5 separate regions of the Homo sapiens genome follow, and regions 2, 3, 4 and 5 are each linked to region 1. The links are contacts of gene promoters, found by promoter capture Hi-C in blood cells and fetal thymus (Javierre and others, 2016). All regions are on one chromosome and are shown on one strand. Each heading gives the region's core, a stretch centred on a gene start or on the middle of the fragment in contact. The rest is flanking DNA. Distances are from core to core; before and after follow the strand shown. Region 1 holds the start of CLEC18C (C-type lectin domain family 18 member C). Region 2 overlaps GLG1 (golgi glycoprotein 1). Region 3 has its middle 17 kb from the start of CLEC18B. Region 4 has its middle 25 kb from the start of NPIPB15. Region 5 overlaps PSMD7 (proteasome 26S subunit, non-ATPase 7).

Region 1 (2,898 bases), core at 226-2,725:
AGCCAAGGGGCCCGACCTCCTGAACTGAGGGTGGGGGGTTAAGAAACTGCAGAGACCCCCAGCAACCAGGGCCTCCGTCCCTCAGGGGCAAGGTGGCTGGCTGTGCCTGCCCACCCTGGTCAAGTGGAAGGGCACCTGGACAGGCGTGGCCTCCTGAGCCGCCCTCTGGGGTCCGCGCCTCCGGCCACCCCCCTGGCAGAGCCCAGCTGGGTCGGGTACTCACCAGCCTCCGCATGTCAGCCGCAGGGGGCTGGACCCAGCTGCGCAGGCGGTTGTGCAGGGAGAGGAGCAAGAAACTCTCCTTCCTGTTCAGGGCTGGGGTGGAGAGAGAAGGTCAGGCAGCCCGAGGATGGGGGGACCTGAACCCAACACACGGCAGAATAAGCATGTGTCCCTGCCCTTGGAAAACAAGATGGGAGAGGAGTGTGGTGGGTGCAGGGGACGTGGGGCATAGCAATGGAGCGAGGCTGAGAGAGAGACCAGGTACAGCAGGCGTGGGCTGAGTGCTGGGGTTGGGGTGGCGGGAGGGAACAGCGGTGCGGGCTGGGTGTAGGGGCCAGCCCTGGCTCCCGCAGGCCCCTGTCTGGGGCTCCTCCGGGCCACGGATTTCTCCAGGCCCCAGCCACAGCGCTCCTCGGCGTTCCTCCTTGACCCCAGCCCTGGTCCTCCTTCCTCCTCCTTCCTCCCCAGTCCAGCATCCACCCCTCACCGCCCCCGGGCTGTCCCAGGGCTTCCTCATTAAACCACCCGCACGGCCTGGGGCTCAGGCCTGGGACCGGGCTTCCAGAAGTCTCCTAGCACCCACTCCTCAGAGCTCATAATGGTGCCTCCACCTACCTCCTCACCAGGTGTCCCTTACCTCCGGCCATCGGAGCCTGCTCCTGCAGCTGGGGTGGCCACACCTCTGCCCAGGCGGTGCCAAGGAGGGCCAGGAGCACAGCCAGGAGATGCCCCCGGCCAGGGGAGGTCTCTGGATGCAGCATGGGTCTGTTGGGCCCGTCAGGCACTCCGTGCACAGCCTGGCTCAGCCACCCGGCTTGTTTCTCAGGCTGGATGGAGCTATTCACAATCTCCAGGAGTCAGGCTGGGCTGGTGGACAAAAGAGGGAGGCTGGTGAGTGAGTAATCAGTGTGTCCAGACAGCCTCCTGTTGGCGCTGGCATGAAAAGAGACAACTCCGGGGGATGCCTGCCTGCTCCGGCCTCGGCCTGGCCAGCCCGCCCCCGACAGCAGGCAGAGTGGCGTGCACTGACCCGCGGCCCCTGCTAATCATTGTGGGATTATTAGCACCCTTGGGGAGCCCCCAGAGACCCCGCTGATTGGCCTGCGGACATTCCAGTGCTGCAGATTAGTGACCGATGGCCGTGTCCTGGCTGGGACAGTGTCCTCCGAGCCCACTGATGGCTTCCGCTCCCCAGCCCCGGGCCCTGGGAGGAGGACCTCGGCTATGGTCCTTCTGGTGAGCAGAAACTGGGCAAGACCCCAGGGGAGTTCTTTCCTTTCTTGGGAAGCTCGTCCCAACCCCCCAGCCATGAATTAAACATAGGCAAGAGGTAACCGCACACCAGAGGGGTGCAATCTGTGGGCTCAAAGGGGGGTGGGCTGAGGCCGCACCTGCACGAGGAAAAGGGTGCCTTAGGAAAGTCTGTCTGGGCAGGGTCGGGGGCTGGGCCCAGCCCCGGTGCCCACCACCCTCACCAACGTGACTACAGGCCAGGGGGGGAGTGAGGCAGGAGGAGTCAAAGCAGGCGGGGACCAGAGCACGTGATGCCCTGGGCTGACTCCAGTCCTGCTGGGATCACGTCCGCCTCTAGAAAAACAGGTGGCGTAGCAGGTGGGCAGCACGTTGCCATGATGTGCCGTGGCCCGGCCGTGGCTGGCGTGATCCCACCAGAGTGAGCTGGAGCAGATCTGCACCATGGGCCAAGTTTCTCAGAAAATACATAGCTTCCTGTGGGCTGCAGCCTAATGCCCACGTTCCTCTCGGGGAAGACCAAAGGTTATTCAACCAGGGCAAAGGACAGCCTTGCAAACCAACTACGTCCTCCTTCTGGAGTTTGTGTGACCCCTGGCCCCTGAGCCCACACCCTCTCGGAGCGGGGTTCCAACTCCGTGGAAGCTCTGCTGAGATGCAGGTAGGGTTGGCTTTCCTGGGGAAACACCAGTGGAATGTGGCTATCGTCATGGGTGCCAGGGATGGGGATGAGGCCAGGCATACAGGCCATGAAGGCGGTCTGGAACTGCATGTCCCCCACAATACCTAGGGGCTCAGGAGTTTCTTCTCCCTCAAACAGAAACCCAGCACCCTCAGGGTCACTGCGTGTGGGTCCTAGCAATGCTTAATAGCTACCTGTTTTTTGATGTATTTTTATTTTTATTTTTTAGACAGTTTCACTCTGCCACTCAGGTTGGAGTGTTATAATCTCAGCTCACTGCAGCCTTGACCTCTTGGGCCCAAGTGATCCTCCCACCTCAGCCTCCCAAGGAGCTGGGACCAGGTGTGTGCCACCATGCCTGGCTAATTATTATTATTTTTTTTGGTAGAGACAGGATTTCATCGTCTTGCCCAGGCTGGTCTCCAACTCCTGGGCTCAAGGGATCTTCCCACCTTGGCCTCCCAAAGTGCTGGGGTTGCAGGCATGAGCCACCACACCTGGCCGAGCCACCTGTGTTTATGGAGCTCACAAAGCCTGTTTGCATGTGTGAGTTCAAGTTATTGCCACAAGAACCTGGTGCAGTAGCAGATGGGATGCCCGTCGTGTAGATGAGGAAACGGGCTTAGTGTGTCTAAGGGGCTTGTCCAAGGTCACTCAGCGAGTGCATGGAGCATCCCAGCTAATCCAAGGTCTCTGCCTTCCCATTCCCAACGCTTTAATTCACATCCTGATCTTTCCCAGTG
Region 2 (2,898 bases), core at 142-2,641, 4.3 Mb before region 1:
GGCAGCTGAACACATTTGCATTGTCTGCCCATGGACTGGTTGGAGCAGAAACCTCCATACCTCAGTCTCTTGGTATTTGTCTGCCCCAACTGCTGCTTTTTGTTGGGATGTTTGTGTGTGCTGGGGTCTCGGCAGCATCGGCTGCTTCCCGGTGCGCACTGACATGCACTTGTTCTCCACGATGGCTTTCTCTACCTTCTGAGATGCTCCATTATCAGTCCTGCCTTTGTTCCGGAGAGTTGAGATGGTATCACTTCTCATCCATCCTTAGAAATACCCCTTCTGAGCTTAATGCAAAAGCCTGGCTATCTCAAATCCAGAATGAGGGGACTCAGAAGGAAATGGCATACATCAGTTGCTGCTCCCTAACCCAGTGTTTATACTGCTGTGTGAGAAAACGTGGGAATTTGTTTTTTTTTTTTTTTTCTCTCCATATAATGAGCCTCTCATTAACCATGGGGGCTCCCACATCCCGGCATCTTTCTGGTCACTATAGTGACTAGGGGGTAGGAGGTTTATTCTCTTTTAAATAAGAAAGAGTTGGAGTCTGTGGTGCTGGTTTTCTTTTCTTTTTTTTTTTAAATTGAGGTGAAATTCACATAACATAAAATTAACCTTTTTTTTTTTTTTTTTTGAGACAAAGCCTCACTCTTGAATGTGTCTCACTGCACCCCAGGCTGGAGTGCAGTGGTGTGATCTTGGCTCACTGCAACCTCTTCCTCCTGGCTCAAGTGATTCTCCTGCCTCAGCCTCCCGAGTAGCTGGGATTACGGGTGCCTGCCGTCATGCCTGGCTTTTTTTTTTTTTTTTTTTTTTTTTTTGGATTTTTAATAGAGACGGGGTTTCTCCATGTTGGCCAGGTTGGTCTTGAACTCCTGACCTCAGGTGATCCACTCACCTGGGCCTCCCAAAGTGCTGGGATTAGAGGTGTGAGCCACTGCGCCTGGCCAAAATAACCCCCCCCTTTTTTTTTTTTTTGAGACGGAGTTTCACTCTTGTTGGCCCAGGCTGGAGTGCAGTGGTGTGATCTCGGCTCACCACAATCTCCGCCTCCTGCCTCACCCTCCAGATTAGCTGGGATTACAGGCATGCGCCACTACGCCCGGCTAATTTTTGTATTTTTAGTAGAGATGGGGTTTCTCCATATTGGTCAGGCTGGTCTCGAACTCCAGACCTCAGGTGATCTGCCCGCCTCAGCCTCCCAAAGAGCTGGGATTACAGGTGTGAGCCACCGCTCCTGGTCTTAACCATTTTAAAGAGAAAAATTCAGTGACATTTAGTACATTTACAGTGTTGTGTGGTCATCATGTCTGTCTAGTTTCAAAACACTCCATGACTCCAAAAGGAAACCCTGTGTTCATTAAACAGTTACTTTCCATCCCTCCTGCCCCAGGTATGCTGGCTTTTTTTTCTTTTTTTGCAAGAGAGACTAACTGTATCTGTCAATAACAGCTTTGTCATGGCCCTTGGAAAAATACTAGTTTTCACCTGCTTTACCCTCTGCTAATTCTTCATAGCTCATCTAGAAGAGTCCAGTCCTATCTCATAATGTTATATCTACATTTTCCTGCTTTTTCTGATTTAGGTCAATTTGAACTCATTTCTCCTGAGTCAAGTGTATATGCTCTCTTGAATTGGATCTGACCTTCTACCTGGTGTTCATAGACTGACACATTAGTTTTGCTAAGCAAAACAACAAACACAAAACTTTCCAACTAACCTAGTCTGAATGAAGCCAGTTCACTTTTATCAGGATACTGTCATAAAAGAATGTTGTTTATATAGTATATTAGAAACTGCTGAATATGTATAATCGCATTGCTAAAGATATGGGCTTTTCGAAGCCTCTTGCACATTTTATTTATTTATTTATTTATTTATTTATTTATTTATTTTTTTGAGACGGAGTTTCGCTCTTGTTGCCCAGGCTGGAGTGCAGTAGTGCAATCTCAGCTCACCACAATGTCCACCTCCCGGGTTCAAGCGATTCTTCTGCCTCAGCCTCCCGAGTAGCTAGGATTACAGGCATGTGCCACCATGCCTGGCTAATTTTGTGTGTTTAGTAGAGACAGGGTTTCTCCATGTAGGTCAGGCTGGTCTCAAACTCCCGACCTCAGGTGATCCGCCCGCCTCGACCTCCCAAAGTGCTGGGATTACATGCGTGAGCCACCGCACCTGGCCGCAACATTTAATTTTTATTCTGGAAGATATTTGAGGTATAAAATTTGGGAGATAAAATACAGGGTTATTTGTTAGTTTCCTCATAGCAGGTTTATCTCATATCTTTGTGTTTTTGTTTTGTTACCTTTCAAGTATTTAGCTCATTTTTTCTCATGCAGCTCTCACGGGAGTGCCGAGCTGAAGTCCAAAGGATCCTACACCAGCGTGCCATGGATGTCAAGCTGGATCCTGCCCTCCAGGATAAGTGCCTGATTGATCTGGGAAAATGGTGCAGTGAGAAAACAGAGACTGGACAGGTAGGTGACATCGCTTTCTGTTTGTCTTACAATAATGATGATGTTAATGTTTAACATTTTATGCAGAGTACAAACACCATAAAATCCATCTCTCTTTACCTTACAGATGTGATTTGTTGTATTGTTCAATATTTTCTCTGGAAGAAATTCTCAGGAAAATTTTCTCTCTGGTCTTTGTATCAGGAATAGTTGGCAGTGAGTTTGTGTTTGCATTATAGTTATTGTATTTTGTAATTGATTATTTTCCCTCTTCCTGTTGCTTATTAAAACTTCTAGAGCCAATGGTATGGCCTGCCTCTTACAGGTATATAAGATTTCATGGTAGGCATTTTTGTAGAAAGCTTACTACTGGCTCCATTTCACATCCTCTTTCCTTTCCTTTTTGTTTCTCTTCTTTATTCATTTTACTCATTTTTAATTC
Region 3 (2,898 bases), core at 1-2,500, 4.3 Mb before region 1:
GAGGCCAACATGGTGCAGCACTCACTGGACACAAGTGTATGGGTCACTCCTCCAAGCAGCAGAGAACACTGAGAGGCATCTGCTAACAGCTAACAGTGGAGGGTTTTCTGTTGCTCTCACTCTGCCGCAGAGAAGGAAACTGTAAAATAATTAGTAGGTGGATCCCAGCCCTTTTTTTTTTTTTTTTTTTTGAGACAGAGTCACCCGGGGTGGAGTGCAGTGACGCAATCTCAGCTCACTGCAACCTCCGCCTCCCAGGTTCAATCGATTCTCCTGCCTTGGCCTCCCAAGTAGCTGGGATTACAGGCATGCACCACCATGCCCAGCTAATTTTTGTGTTTTTAGTAGAGACAGAGTTTGACCATGTTGGCCAGGCTGGTCTCAAACTCCTAACCTCAAGTGAGCCACCGTGCCCAGCCAAGTGGATCCCAACTTTGGCTGAACTTCAAAGAGCCTCCATCAATAACTTGCCAGAACTTGCTGGTTACAGGTTGTCAAGATGTCTGTGCGTTTGGCCCTGTCTAATCAGCTGCTTCCTGGGGAGGATTCTGTTGTCGTTGCTTTCATTCGGTTACAGTTTGTTTCACTCAGCTATAATTGCAACTCGCAGGGAAAAAAAAGAGGCTGAGGTGGGAGGATGACTTGAGGCCAGGAGTTTGAGATCAGCCTGGGCAACATAGTGAGACCCCATCTCTTAAAAAAATTTATCTGGATGTGGTGGTGCACGCCTGTAGTCCCAGCTACTCAGGAGGCTGAGGTGGGAAGATCGCTTGAGCCAGCAGGTCAAGACTGCAGTGACCGTGATTGCACCACTGCACTCAGCTTGGGTGACTGAGTGAGACTTTGTCTCAAAAAAACAAACAAGAAAACATAAGTCTCCTAACTGAAGGACAAGTCACTAAGCATAAACTGACCAACGGGCAGACTGACGTGAGAGTCAGTAGTATGAAAGGTCAACTCGAGGATCTGCTATGCCTTAATGACGGGGTAGGGTAAGAGAGGGGAAAGCATTCGAGTCTTCCTGAGAAGGTTAAGTCTAGTCACTTGGCAATGCCTGGTAGGAAACGCAGGAAACAATTAAAAACACTCCCACAACCCTGAGGTTGGAGCTTCTCGATGTGGAGTATCAGATCGCCTGATGAGCACAGGCAACTTTAAAATAAAGGCAAAGCGAAGTTTGCTCAGTTACATATCAGTGTAACTGTCAGTGTTCAAAAGTGTTCACAAGAGCAGCAGTAAAAGGATTTAATTACATGTTGATAGGAAAAGACTATTCTGAGAATGACCACTGTCAGATATGAAACAGGAAACCCACAGCTCTATGGGGCTGTTGGAACTGATCAATCAGCAGATAAAGCCAGAGTGGTTTTACATAAGCATTGTGATCATAGGCTATCATCAGAGAGCCTAAAACCAAACCCCAAGGGGAAGGAGAGGAAGAAAAGCAAGAATTTTCTTTTTTTTTTTTTTTTTTGAGACAAAGTCTAGCTCTGTCGCCCAGGCTGGAGTGCAGTGGTTCAATGTTGGCTCACTGCAACCTCCGCTTCCTGAGGTCAAGAGATCCTTCTGCCTCAACCTCCTGAGTAGTTGGGATTACAGGCGTGCGCCACCATGCCCGGCTAATTTTTTGTATTTTTCTTAGTAGAGATGGGGTTTCACTATGTTGACCAGGCTAGTCTCGAACTCCTGACCTCGTGATCCACACCCCGCTTAGCCTCCCAAAGTGCTGGGATTACAGGCATAAGAATTTTCCATTTTTAGTTAGGTGGACTTTAAGAGAAGTATTGCCTTATGGAGCAAAGCACACATATGCATCACTATGTTCCCAAAAAATCACGTAAAAAGAGAAATGATTCACTTGTGCTTTTCATTATTAGTACGTTTTACCAAAAAACAAAGCTATAAATAAGACTGATCTCTAGGCTGGGTGTAGTGGCTCATGCCTGTAATCCCAGCACTTTGGGAAGCCAAGGCCAGAGGCTCACTTGCAGTGAGTTTGAGACCAGCCTGGCCAACATGGTGAAACCCCGCGTCTACTAAAAATACAAAAATTAGGCAGGCATGGTGGCACATGCTTGTAATCCTAGCTACTTGGGAGGCTGAGGCAGGAGAATCACTTGAACCCAGGAGGTGGAGGTTGTAGTGAGCCAAGATGCACTTTAGCCTCCTAGCCTTGGTCTCAAAAAAAAAAAAAAAAAGGATTGATGATATAAAAGGTGAAGTATTTGGGAGATGGGTTATCACTTCCATTTTAGAGGAGAAAGCTAACAAGCCATCTTCTTTCAAATACTTACTTGCTCTGGATAATATTGAGAAAAGAACTACTCAAGAGCTCTGGAAACTGAACAAAAGCAGGCAGTTTTCAGAGGGGAGTCAAAACTTGGAACAAACAATCTGTAGCACCTGGGAGCTAAAACACCAATAGTGGCTGGGCTTGGTGGCTCACACCTGTAATCCCAGCACTTTGGGAGGCTGAGGCGGGTGGATCACGAGGTCAGGAGTTCAAGACCAGCCTGGCCAACATGGTGAAACCCCATCTGTGCTAAAAATACAAAAATTAGCCAGACGTGGTGGCGCGTACCTATAATCCCAGCTACTTGGGAGGCTGAGGCAGGAGAATCACTTGAACCTGGGAAGCAGAGGTTGCAGTGAGCTGAGATAGCGCCATTGCACTCCAGCCTAGGTGACAAGAGCGAAACTCTGTCTCAAAAAAAGGCTGGGCGCAGTACCTTCCGCCTGTAATCCCAGCACTTTGGGAGGCCGAGGCAGGTGGATCATGAGGTCAAGAGATCGAGACCATCCTGGCCAACATGGTGAAACCCCATCTCTAGTGAAAACAATTAGCTGGGTGTGGTGGCGGGTACCTGTAGTCCCAGCTACTCGGGAGGCTGAGGCAGG
Region 4 (2,898 bases), core at 281-2,780, 4.2 Mb before region 1:
TGGTCTCAAACTACTGACCTCAGATGATCCGCCCCCCTCAGCCTCCCAAAGTGCTGCGATTACAAGCATGAGCCACTACACCTGGCCTAGAATCTCATTTGATCCTCACAACTTCACAAAACTGTGAGCTGAGAATGTTTGGTCAGGGCATGGAGCCTTAGTGCATCTGAAGTTCTTAAAATTTTGCAAAGAAGCTCAGAGAAGCTGATTTACCTGCCCAAGGATATTGAGTGGCAGTCCCAGGATTCATCACAGGCCTTCTAACTTATAATCTAGTGGATTTTCCACTCTCCCGTCCTACATTTGGTCTGATCTGTCTCATTTGGGCTCATTTTTCTTACAGGTTACACAAGGACAGGCTCAATCTTTCTGGCCCAAACTCAGGACCGACTGATCTCCCTGAAGCGCATCAACGCAGGGCTGAAGTACGTAAGAGTCTAGAAGCGTGTCCTGACTTTACCACACTGGCCTCTGCCAAAGAGCCTGTGAATGTCATTGTCCCTTGTGTTCTGTGGCAGTGTTATAGGTATCCCTTCTGAGATCATCTCCCCCAAGAAAGTGGCCGAGCTTCACCATCTCCTCAACGTGCACGACCTGGTGGGGGCCATGCATGTTCCTGAGGATGCAGTGGTGTCTTCCGCTGACGTGGCTCTTGCCCTGGCAAGTGCTGCCTCCCAAAATGGTGAGCAGGTTTTTGCATTTTCTTAAGATAGGTTAGCAGGGAAGACATTACCTAAGGAAGTGTCTCACAGTAGGAAGTGACACCAACTCAAGTTTGGAAAGATTATCCTCTTTGGGGTACTCAGCCTCCATTTTGAACACTTATAATTTTATTTATCTGTTAATGAGTGTTTTCCCTCAGGGCCACATTTTTAAAGTTCTAAAGAACTGCTTTTAGTGCTAATTAATGCCCGTTTTTTGGAGACGGAGCTTCACTCTTTTCGCCCAGGCTGGAGTGCAGTGGCACAATCTTGGCTCACTGCAACGTTCGCCTCCTGGGTTCATGTGATCCTCCTGCTTCAGCCTCCCGAGTAGGTGGGACTACAGGCGTGCGCCACTACACCCAGGTAATTTTTTTGTGTATTTTTAGTAGAGACGGGGTTTCGCCGTATTGGCCAGGCTGGTCTTGAACTCCTGACCTCAGATGATCCACCTGCCTCGGCCTCCCTAAGTGCTGGGATTACAGGCGTGAGCCACTGTGCCCTGCCAATTAATGCCCTTTGGACTTAAGGTAATATTTTCCCCCACAGGACTTGAGAAGCTCAAGGTGAAAACACACCTTGGAAGTTTAATCCACACCTGAAATCATAAGCCCAGTTGCATTGAATGAGGGGAAGACTTAACTAGTGTCCAGGGTATCATATCCATGGTATGAGCAGGTTAGCACTTAAGGCGCACTATTTACATCCTCTCCTCTTTGCTCCATAGTTTATGATTCCAGGAATTTAATTATTGTGTTCCAAAGTCTGTTTTTAAACTGACTTGCTATTTTCAATCTCGAACAAGGCCCATTTACATAGTCTCAGGATGTGATTCTAGGGTTTTGTGTTTTTTTTTAAATGAAAGCATTGAGCCGGGCGTGGTGTCTCATGCCTGTAATCCCAGCACTTTGGGAGGCCAAGGCAGGCGGATCACCTGAGGCCAGGAGTTCAAGACCAGGCTGACCAGCATGGTAAAACCCCATCTCTATTAAAAATACAAAAATTAGCAGGACATGGTGGTGCATGCCTGTAATCCCAGCTACTTGAGAGGCTGAGGCAGGAGAATTGCTTGAACCCAGGAGGCAGAGAGCGAGCCAAGATCACACCACTACCCTCCACCCTTGGCGACAAAGCAAGACTCCGTCTCAAAAATAAAATAAAAAAATAAATTAAAGCATTGACTTGACTTTGTCAGTGTTTCTTCTGGGTGGAGAACCTGCTGCACATGCCTTCATTCTGGAACATCAGATGAAGCACCAACTCTTTCTTTACCTTGGAACAGGTGTTCAGATCTATGACCGGACATCTGTTCTTCAAGTAATGGGCAAAAAAGGTCAAGTTACTGGAGTGGAGACCGATAAAGGACAGATTGAATGCCAGTATTTTGTCAACTGTGCTGGCCAGGTAGGTCAGCACCAACACTGATTTTCTTATTTAACGTATGTCTCCAAGATTTTTTTGGTGTAGAGAAGTAAGGTTAGTATTGTGATTCATTACACAGATATCAGTAACTATGCTGTTTCTTGTAGGGTATTCTAAATCAGAAACCTACACTTAGTCTGCAAATAGAAGCCTGTGTGACCTTGTCCTTCCTCCACACTGGGTTGATGGGTGCTATCCTGGTCAGGAAGGCCAGCAAATGGTCAGGCATTGACGTGAATCCTTGGCGCTGGGTCTTGGTGTTACATTTCATTCTACAACCTAGCAAATAACATATTAGGCTATTTTATTGTGTCAGGAATGTGGACACTAATTTCCGGGACACTGCTTCTTTTAAAGCAGATTGGCTCTTGCCTTCCATGCTATGATCCCGAAGTGAACTAAGAAATACTTTTGCCACGTGAAGTTCATTTAGTGATTGCTATTTGGGGTTTGTAGCTGAGCCCAGGCGTTTTATCAAAAGGACCTCCTTTGGTTCCCATGAGCTCCTTTGACTAGCTGGTAAATATCTCTTCCTTTGATCTCAAAGTAATTTTTATGTCTTAAAAAATGTAGTATTGCTCCCCATCCAAATAATTGAACTAAAGCAGGCTGACTTCCCACACCTGACACTGTAGCAAGAGCACACATAAGCCACTTGGAATTAATCTCAAGAGGCTGAACTTGCTCATTTTTATTTCTGTTCCCCTTCCCACCCACAAATCAACCTGTCCATTTGTAGTGGGCATACGAGCTGGGTCTGTCCAACGAGGAGCCG
Region 5 (2,898 bases), core at 280-2,779, 4.1 Mb before region 1:
TTTAGAGATAAATGAATGAAGAGTACCAAAATATTTGTTGACTTCTCTTCATTTTTCTCATACAATCTGAAGCCTGAGCTGACTATCATATCCCCAACTCACAGCAGCGAAAGCTGCAGTTCAGATTTGAGATCAGTCTCCATTCACTTCCACGTAGCACCACAGCAAGAGTGACCGGAGGCAGAGAGCTCTTGTTGGGTCAGCTTTCTAATAAGCATGTCAAGTGAAAAAGAACCCTCTAGCAGCACACTGATTTAGTTTGTAAGATTTTAATTTACAAATTAAAAAAGCTATTTAATACATGTTTTACTTTTTCTCCTTTTTCTCCTCTTTCTTTACATCACTCTTTTCCTTATCTTTATCTTTCTCCTTGTCCTCTTTCCTATCCTTTTTGCTCTCTTCTTTCTCCTGCCCTTCTTTCTTCTCTGCATCCCGGTTGGCAATCTTGTTGTTGATGAGGTTGTGCAGGGCGACCACGGAACGGATCAGCGAGGCCAAGTACACTACCACCATCTGGTCATTGGTCTTCAGGTAAAAGGCCTTGACGAACTCCTGCAGGCTGACATCTGGCAGCAGGTTGAAGACGTCCTGCAGCTGGTAGATGATCTGGTGGTTGATGGGCAGCTTGCCTGTGGCGACTTTTTCCAGGTAGCTCCTGATATCCAGAAGCTTGGAGTTCAGTCCCTTCAAACCATGGACCTGGTTTGTGATCCGCTGGGACAGAGTGCCCACCGTCGTGTCTTTGATATCTCTGTAATAACCCACAGTTAAAAAGGGCAGGAAAAGGCATCAGGGTACCATGTTATCAGGCAAGTTCTTACATTCTAAGAAAATTCCTAGCTTTGTTGGGTGAGGCAAGTTTTTAAAAGAAAAATGTCACTTCCCCATTTGATAAAGATTTCGTTATCAATTACCTTAATTTCGTTATCATTTGGAACACATTTTATCTTTCTCATCACAGGACATTTTTCAAAAAACAATTATAAAAGGGAGCTAAAATAAAACCATTTCCACTTAAGGAAAAAAAAATTGCTTAGGTCAACAGTTCAGATCTACCAATAACTTTCTGGGTAACCTTGTACTGAAGCTGTCTCTCTCAGCTTTCCTGTTCCTAAAAGGATGGCATTTTCTCTACATGCATCTCCAGAATATTGAGAAGCTTAACTAAGATGGTAATTTTTAGAACTAGAAGGAACCTCATTGACTGATAAAACTATAACCTTTTTCAAATAAGGATTATAATAGATATAGGATTTTAAAACAAAAGCTACTCCAAGATGAAGATTCTCTCCAGAAAATGGGCTACATTTGTTGAGAAGGACACCTAGTGGAGAGTGCAGGCCTGCATTTATTTCATACCTCTCTTCCCGTCAGTCAACATTATAGTTTCCAGACAAGGTATGCTATCCACAAAGTCATAAATTGTAACTCAAGACATTTTACAGTTGATGTAGTTCAAACACTTCAATTTACAGACAATAAAACAAAGGTCTGGAAAGGGACTGTGATTTGCTCAGAATGGCAGACTTGTTAGTGGACGGCCAGGACGAGACCCCAGGTCTCCATATTCCCGACACAGACCTCTTCCTTACACTGTGTGACCTCTCGGGCAGTGAATGATTTTGATGCTGTACTAGGGTCTCACCGTAACAAGTGTTCAACTCCAACTTCCTCAGCTTCCTCTGCTCCAATTTCACTGGTCACGTGTTCAAATGTTTTCGAGGTTGGAGTTCCATCCTGGGAGAGGAAGCCTAACTATAATTATTTATTTTCCACAAACGAACTGACATGTGTTCCTTTTCGCACCCTGAGTCTTTTGCTTTAAGTCAGCTCATTTAATGAGTGCATGACTGAGAATTTTCTATGGCAAGGGTGGGTAAGGCTTACTTTGAAAGCTTAGCCTTCAAAGCTAACATCACTGTGGTGCTGCTCAGTGATGCAGTCTGCTGGGGCACTGTGCGTTGAGAAAAATCTGGAAATTCCCTCAAGCCCACACTTGGCATGAACGCACAGGGAGGTCTCAGGTTGATTCTTAAAAGTATACCGCTTTGGCCAGGCACGGACCTGTAATCTCAGCACTTTGGTACGCCAAGAATTCGAGACCAGCCTGGGCAACATGGCGAAAACCCCTCTCTACTAAAAATACAAAAACTAGCCAGGTGTGGTGGCGGGCGCCTGTAATCCCAGCTACTCTGGAGGCTGAGGAACGAGAATCACTTGAACCTGGGAGGTGGAGGGTGCAGTGAGTCGAGATCACGCCACTGCACTCCAACCTGAGCAACAGAGTGAGATTGTCTTAAAAAAAAAAAAAGTATATAGTTCTTTCTAGAATGGACAATATACAGAATATCTGTACTGAAGCAAGTTCATGCCAGAAAATAAAACTTTTAGCCCTTTTTTGTCTCTTGGATCAAACGATTCCACAGTGCCCAAACCAATGCAATCAGAATAGTTGGCTTTCTGGTGGTCTGAATTAATCAAAGGATCCATTGGGGACATGGTTCATGGTGGTCACCCAGTGACATCCTGAAGGGACTTCGAAGATACTTTTCTCAGACCTTGTGCCAGAAGAGGCTGTACGTCTCCTGTCAAAAGGCTGTAAACTGTCTGTAAGGGAGGAAGGACAGCATAGTGGTAAGAGTACAGGCTCCACAGCCAGGCTACCTGGGTTCAAATTTGGCTCTGCCATGTATGTAATAGGCGAGCTCCAAGACCTTGGGAAAGTCACTCAACTCACACTAAGTACTATAAAAGTTAGCCGTGATTATTTTATTTAGGATAGTGTTAATCCTGCAAGGGGCATTCTCCTCTTTGCTTTGGATGCCAGGATGGTCAGAACCTTTAACAGTGTTGTGGGATTTCTTGGTAACCTTTACAGGCACTAATTCTTCTTGAGCT

The links. Contacts are between HindIII fragments. The CHiCAGO score rates a contact against its expected background, and 5 or more counts as called.
Region 2: a fragment that was not itself captured here is called in contact with the fragment with the promoter of CLEC18C in region 1 in 1 of 17 cell types (M1 macrophages); the score reaches 8.7 in M1 macrophages.
Region 3: a fragment that was not itself captured here is called in contact with the fragment with the promoter of CLEC18C in region 1 in 1 of 17 cell types (M2 macrophages); the score reaches 8.0 in M2 macrophages.
Region 4: a contact is called between a fragment that was not itself captured here and the fragment with the promoter of CLEC18C in region 1, in 1 of 17 cell types (M1 macrophages). The highest score is 8.9, in M1 macrophages.
Region 5: a fragment that was not itself captured here is called in contact with the fragment with the promoter of CLEC18C in region 1 in 10 of 17 cell types (M1 macrophages, erythroblasts, M2 macrophages and 7 more); the score reaches 27.0 in M1 macrophages.

Annotation. Positions count from the first base shown.
Region 1 is chr16:70,172,364-70,175,261 of GRCh38, reverse strand. CLEC18C (C-type lectin domain family 18 member C) reads right to left here and starts at 1,475. Exons shown (of 13, transcript NM_173619.4): 1 at 1,311-1,475; 2 at 860-1,089; 3 at 224-315. The coding sequence starts at 983. LOC400541 (a long non-coding RNA gene) reads left to right here and starts at 1,814. Exons shown (of 3, transcript NR_126007.1): 1 at 1,814-2,134. The HindIII fragment of the contact is 29,094 bases long and covers 1-2,898 here.
Region 2 is chr16:74,476,975-74,479,872 of GRCh38, reverse strand. GLG1 (golgi glycoprotein 1) reads left to right here. Exons shown (of 26, transcript NM_001145667.2): 12 at 2,340-2,477. Among named protein-coding and RNA genes, the nearest start is that of CLEC18B, 57 kb to the right of the region's middle. The HindIII fragment of the contact is 2,859 bases long and covers 1-2,820 here.
Region 3 is chr16:74,437,021-74,439,918 of GRCh38, reverse strand. No RefSeq gene overlaps it. Among named protein-coding and RNA genes, the nearest start is that of CLEC18B, 17 kb to the right of the region's middle. The HindIII fragment of the contact is 7,294 bases long and covers 1-2,898 here.
Region 4 is chr16:74,349,824-74,352,721 of GRCh38, reverse strand. It overlaps the pseudogene PDPR2P. Among named protein-coding and RNA genes, the nearest start is that of NPIPB15, 25 kb to the left of the region's middle. The HindIII fragment of the contact is 3,869 bases long and covers 1-2,898 here.
Region 5 is chr16:74,303,142-74,306,039 of GRCh38, reverse strand. It overlaps PSMD7 (proteasome 26S subunit, non-ATPase 7), which reads right to left. Exons shown (of 7, transcript NM_002811.5): 6 at 1,646-1,737; 7 at 1-751. The coding sequence ends at 307. Among named protein-coding and RNA genes, the nearest start is that of PSMD7, 7.8 kb to the right of the region's middle. The HindIII fragment of the contact is 736 bases long and covers 1,162-1,897 here.